Linked DNA regions of Homo sapiens: region 2 is linked to region 1. The links are contacts of gene promoters, found by promoter capture Hi-C in human tissues and cell types (Jung and others, 2019). All regions are on one chromosome and are shown on one strand. Each heading gives the region's core, a stretch centred on a gene start or on the middle of the fragment in contact. The rest is flanking DNA. Distances are from core to core; before and after follow the strand shown. Region 1 holds the start of CACNG3 (calcium voltage-gated channel auxiliary subunit gamma 3). Region 2 has its middle 24 kb from the start of RBBP6.

The links. Contacts are between HindIII fragments. The study calls those that stand out against the background at their distance.
Region 2: a contact is called between a fragment that was not itself captured here and the fragment with the promoter of CACNG3 in region 1, in 1 of the 25 tissues and cell types used here (dorsolateral prefrontal cortex).

Annotation. Positions count from the first base shown.
Region 1 is chr16:24,254,772-24,257,633 of GRCh38, forward strand. CACNG3 (calcium voltage-gated channel auxiliary subunit gamma 3) reads left to right here and starts at 1,564. Exons shown (of 4, transcript NM_006539.4): 1 at 1,564-2,194. The coding sequence starts at 1,984. RefSeq lists an enhancer at 1,312-2,039. The HindIII fragment of the contact is 9,462 bases long and covers 1-2,838 here.
Region 2 is chr16:24,514,187-24,517,056 of GRCh38, forward strand. No RefSeq gene overlaps it. Among named protein-coding and RNA genes, the nearest start is that of RBBP6, 24 kb to the right of the region's middle. RefSeq lists an enhancer at 2,822-2,870. The HindIII fragment of the contact is 7,482 bases long and covers 1-2,870 here.

The DNA.
Region 1 (2,862 bases), core at 314-2,813:
GGCAGCCAGAGATGGCACCAGGGGAGTATGTTTGTCTGCGATTACCTCCCGTTATATTTCTGTCCAGCTAAATAACATTCAAACATGACAGTTGGTTGCGGACACATCTCAGGAACTGTGGAAACAACCCAAGCAACCTCATTTCCAACTATCTGACCTCTGGATATCAGTCCCAGGATGCCATAAGAAAAAAAATAATAAGGGCATTTCTGTGGGCTGTTTCTAGTCAACTCGGTGTGTGCCCATGCATATGCCGGAATACATAGTAATAAAAAGCTGGTTAAATGCTGGTCCTTTGCAATACTGGCTATTTCCAAGGAAGAGAGCTTTCAGGTGTGCAATGCCATTTGCCCTTTGGACTAACAAGCAAAGCAGACCTAACTTCACCTGCTTCATGGTCTCACTTAGATAACAATGTTAACAAATGATATCTCAGAGACCTTTGAACAAAATCTGACATTTTCAGTGACTCTCCCACCATGAATCCATCACCCCCTTCGATGTAGATATGTTAAAATGTATAAAAGGCATATTCAAAGGCCAAAATCTTATAGTCTTTTGCCCAAGGTCCCTAATATGTGTATGACAGAGTCTATGTATATTTAGCTTCTTCCATCTTTTAGGAATACATGATCATGTATATATGAACAGTTCCGGGTCTGATCTGAGCGGGTTGTCTTCGGTGTAAACCAGAGCTCCAGAGAAAGGAGGGTAGACATATTGGTTTGTTTGCTGGGGAACCAAATTGAGACAGACTCTACACAGATGTGATTGTGACAACACTTTTTGCCCGCCTAAGCGAGCCATAGAGCCGTCTCCAGAGCTGCCGGTGCCTTTAAGAAGACTCGGTCTTTCGGGTCTTCTTTTTCCCCAATGGGCTCCAGTGGTGCCCGCAGCAAAAGGCAAACTTGCCTGGCTCATGGGGTGAAAGGGAGGATTGAAGAATGCCGCGTTGGGTGGGTGCTGAGGGAGCGCCAGAGTGCGCTACGGGCTTCGCTCCCCTTCCCCTTTCCTTAACCCTTCCTAGAGCGGAGGAACCGGGTCGTGCTGCAGCGCCCAGGAGCCAGGGCGCTGACTGTCCTCGGCTCCAGAAACTTTGCGCGGAGAGTGGGCTTGACTGGGCAGAGCCGAGCCGGCTGGCTGACCCGGGAAGGAACGGGGGAAGGGCGGGGTGAGGGAAGAAAGACCCTTTAGCACCCCGGGTTTCTAGCCCGGGCGGCGGTGTGCAGCTGCATGAGGGAGCTGTCCCTTCGGCACCACGGACCTTAAAGCCTAGGCGTTAAGACGACGGAGGCGGGGCAACAGGCGGGGAGCTGTCCCTTCAGCACCACGGACCTTGGCGCCCCCAGGGAAACCAGCCGGCCCCCGCCCCAGGACTCTGTCTTTTCTCCAGTTTGAGCGGGGGTGTCGGGAGCAGGCGGAGAGCTTTCCTGCGAGGCTGTGGAAGCAGTGAACACTCTTCTCAGCGGCTCGCCTCCCAGCAGTGCTATTTTTTGCCATCCGCCCTCACCCCCAGCACACGCGCTCGCACACACACGCACGCACGCACACACACACACACACACACTCACACAGAGACCTCTCTGGGTTTCTTTGCCTTGAGTCTCCCGGGGCTGTGAGAAGCCAGGCGCATCTCAAACCGAGCTGGCAGCTCCAGGCTCCGGAGCCATGCCCTGCACGGACCCTCGTCTTTACCACGCTCCTGAGGAATGAAAGGAACCCAGGGACCCTCAGAAGGCAGCAGTGATGCGGACCAACCCCCCGGAGCCTGCACCCTTCCGAGGGCCATAGGCGACCCAGGGAACTGGAGAGAGCTCCAGAAAGGAAATCCCAGCTTTCCCAAAGTCCCTGTGGATGCTGACAAAAGGAGACCTGAATTTTTGGAAGAGCCTGTACTAGGTTACCCGGCTGCAGAGTGATTTTCCCCTCCGGCACTGACTCTCCCCCTCCAACCCCCAGCCGTCCAGAGTACCATGAAGAATTATGAGGATGTGTGACAGAGGTATCCAGATGTTGATCACCACTGTAGGAGCCTTTGCCGCTTTTAGTTTAATGACCATTGCAGTGGGCACGGACTACTGGTTATATTCCAGAGGTGTGTGCAGGACTAAATCTACAAGTGATAATGAAACCAGCAGGAAGAATGAAGAAGTAATGACCCATTCGGGGCTGTGGAGGACCTGCTGCCTAGAAGGTATTTACAATTTCCTCTCAATAGCTCTGAATAATCCAGTTCTGATATTCTGGTGGGTGTTTGGAGGAGATGGAAATGGTGATAAGGAAAGAAGAGAAGTTCAAATTATTGCTGAGAATGTGCAGGTGCCCAGACTCTGTTAACAGCAAGACTGACGCCATGTGGGTTAAAGGGGTTGGGTCTTGTTGATTGTTTTTAGTATAAGCTTCATGAGATGAGATTTTTGTCACACTCTAGGCAGCTTCTGCAGTTTAGAAAAGTCTTCAAATCCAAAATCCCTAGGCATATTGTCAACTGCTTGGATCTCTGGCTTGAGATGGGGTCTTTAACCCTGCTTAAATTGGATTTCGAAGGGAGGGGGAGGGAAGGGAGGAGAAGGGACAAGAGGAAAGAAGTGAGGGGGGAGAGAGAGAGAGAGAGAGAGAGAGAGAGAGAGAGAGAGAGAGAGAGAGAGAGAGAGAGATCCTGACCCGGTCTGGCACATTCTGAGCTATTTCATTATTTCTCAACATAGACTTATCAGTTTCTCCTGAGTTTGCTCTAACTAGATATTGTCATGAACTTCCACTGCCAATCAGTAACAGGGTAACATATGTAAACCCCTACTCCCACCCACACCCTATGCACACATTTTAAGAAAAAATCCTTATTGATACATGTTTTATTAG
Region 2 (2,870 bases), core at 300-2,799, 260 kb after region 1:
CAATACAAATGGTTCTGCAACTTGGGCCATGCAGCATGGCAGGTCCCATGGCATAGAGCTATCTGGGGTGGAAAATGACACCATGTGGAATCTCTGGCAAGCCCCACTAGAGAGTTACAACAAATACCCATAGGGTTCTGGAGCAAGGCCATGCCATCTGCAACAGAGAACTCTTCAACATTGGAAAAAGCAGCTCCTGGCATGCTACTGGGCCCTAGTAGAGATGGAGTACTTAACCATGGGATGCCTATCGTGAGCCAGTAATTGTCAGACCCACCAAGTCTTTAGCTTGAAAAGTACAGCAGAAATCCGTAGTACAGTGGAAACAGCACCTTCAGGGTCAGTCCTGGGCAGGTCCAAAGTTCAATTAAGTTACAGAAAGATGTGACCCAGACCTACATGTTCCCTGCCTCATTGCTCTGATGCCTTCCTCAGCTCATGCTTACATCTTCATGAAGGGTTTCTTTTTTTTTTCTGAGACAGAGTCTCGCTCTATCGCCCAGGCTGGAGTGCAGTAGCGCGATCTCGGCTCACTGCAAGCTCCGCCTCCCGGGTTCATGCCATTCTCCTGCCTCAGCCTCCCGAGTAGCTGGGACTACAGGCACCCACCACTACTCCTGGCTAATTTTTTTTTTTTATTTTTAGTAGAGACGGGGTTTCACCATGTTAGCCAGGATGGTCTCGATCTCCTGACCTCGTGATCCACCCACCTTGGCCTCTCAAAGTGTTGGGATTACAGGTGTGGGCCACCGCGCCCGGCCAAGGGTTTCTTATGTACAGTTGATGGAGAAGGAGAGACCCCAAGCCAAGTTTATGCACGGGATGTCTCCTCTGTTGGTGAGAGCTGAAGATGTCCTGCTGCTACACTAGACTCCCAGGCAGGGGCAGCTTAGGAAGGCTGGACAAGCTTTGGATGGTATACCCGGCCATCGACTTTGTGAGAAGAGAGAAGTTGCCTGACATGAGCATATATGCAGACATCTTGGCAGTGGTGAATAGCTTAAATGGTTGGCAGGGAGCCTTGAAGGAGTGAGATTGGAAGACAGGAGAACCTGAAGCAGAAGTATGTAGATGGATTTGTGGGAGAGGTGCCAACTGTGTGGATCTTCAAGTCTCATGTCAATGCCCACCAGAGGGTATCTTCCAAAAGACAGCATTAAACAACTGGGCGGACAGGCTGACTGGTCCAGTGGAGGCCCGCCAGATTGTGTACCCAGCCGTAACTGTGTTGGCACAGTGGGTCCTTGAATAGACTAACCATGGTGGCACAGACGGAGGCTTGCTAAGAGCTCAATAACATGGGCTCCCTTTCACCAAGACTAATCTGCTGGCTGGGCGCAGTGGCTCATGCCTGTAATCCCAGCCCTTTGGGAGGCTGAGGAGGGCAGATTGCTTGAGCTCAGGAGCTCAAGACCAGCCCAGGTAACACAGCAAGATCCCGTCTCTAGTAAAAATAAAAATTAAAAAATCAGCTGGGCATGGTGACACACGCCTGTAGTCCCAGCTACTCAGGAGGCTGAAGTGGGAGGATCGCTTGAACCCAGGAAATCGAGGCTGTTGTAAGCTGTGATTGCACCACTGCACTACAGCCTGGATGACAGAATGAGACCCTGTTTCCAAAAAAAAAAAAAAAGGCCATATGTGGTGGCTCATGCCTGTAATCCCAGCACTTTAGGAGGCTGAGGCAGGCATATCACCTGAGGTCAGGAATTCGAGACCAGCCTGGCCAACATGGTGAAACCCAGTCTCTACTAAAAATACAAAAATTAGCTGGGTATGGTGGCGCACACCTGTAATCCCAGCTACTCAGGAGGCTGAGGCAGGAGAATCAGTTGAACCCGGGAGGTGGAGGTTGCAGTGAGCCGAGATCACACCACAGCACTTCAGCCTGGAAGACAAAGCAAGACTCCATCTAAAAAAAAAAATGGGGGCAACTTGGCCCCCCAAGGGACCATAGGCAATGTGTGGAGATATTTTTGGTTGTCATAATGGAGGAAGGGATGCTACTAGCATCTAGCATATAAAGACCCAAGCATGTAATTAAACATCTTACAACGCAAAGGACAGTCTCCCACAACAAAAGATTGTCCAGCCTCAAGGTTGAAGAACTATTAGACTAAAGCCTGTTGTGCCTTTTCTCTTTTTTCTTTCTTTTTTTTTTTTTTTGATGGAGTTTTGCTCTTGTCACCCAGGCTGGAATGCAATGGTGCGATCTCAGCTACTGCAACTTCTGCCTCCTGGGTTCAAGCGATTCTCCTGCCTCAGCCTCCTGAATAGCTGGGATTACAGGCGCCCACCACCACACCCAGCTAATTTTTTTGTATTTTTACTAGAGACAGGGTTTCACCATGTTGGTCAGGCTGATCTTGAACTCCTGACCTCAGGTGATCCACCAGCCTCAGTCTCCCAAAGTGCTGGGATTACAGGTGTGAGCTACCAGTCCCGGCTTTTTTCTTTTCTTTTCTTTTCTTTTTTTTTAAGACAGGGACTTGCTCTGTCACCCAGGCTGAAGTGCAGTGGTGTGATCATAGCTCACTGCAGCCTTGACCTCCTGGACTCAAGCAATCTTCCCACCTCAGCCTCCTGAGTAGCTGGGACTACAGGCACACGCCACCATCCCTGGCTAATTTTTTAATTTTTGTAGAGATGAGTCTCGCTATGTTGCTCAGGATAGTCTTGAACTCCTAGGCACAAGTGATCCTCCTGCTTCAGCCTCCCAATGTGCTGGGATTTCAGGCGTAAGCCACCCCACCTGGTCCTGTTGTGCTTCTCTGACGGCCAGTCCAGCCTTGTAATCATAACGGTGATATTGAAGGCAGATCTTCATCTTGTTCCCCGAGCGTGTGTCCATGCTGCGGGGATAAGAATGT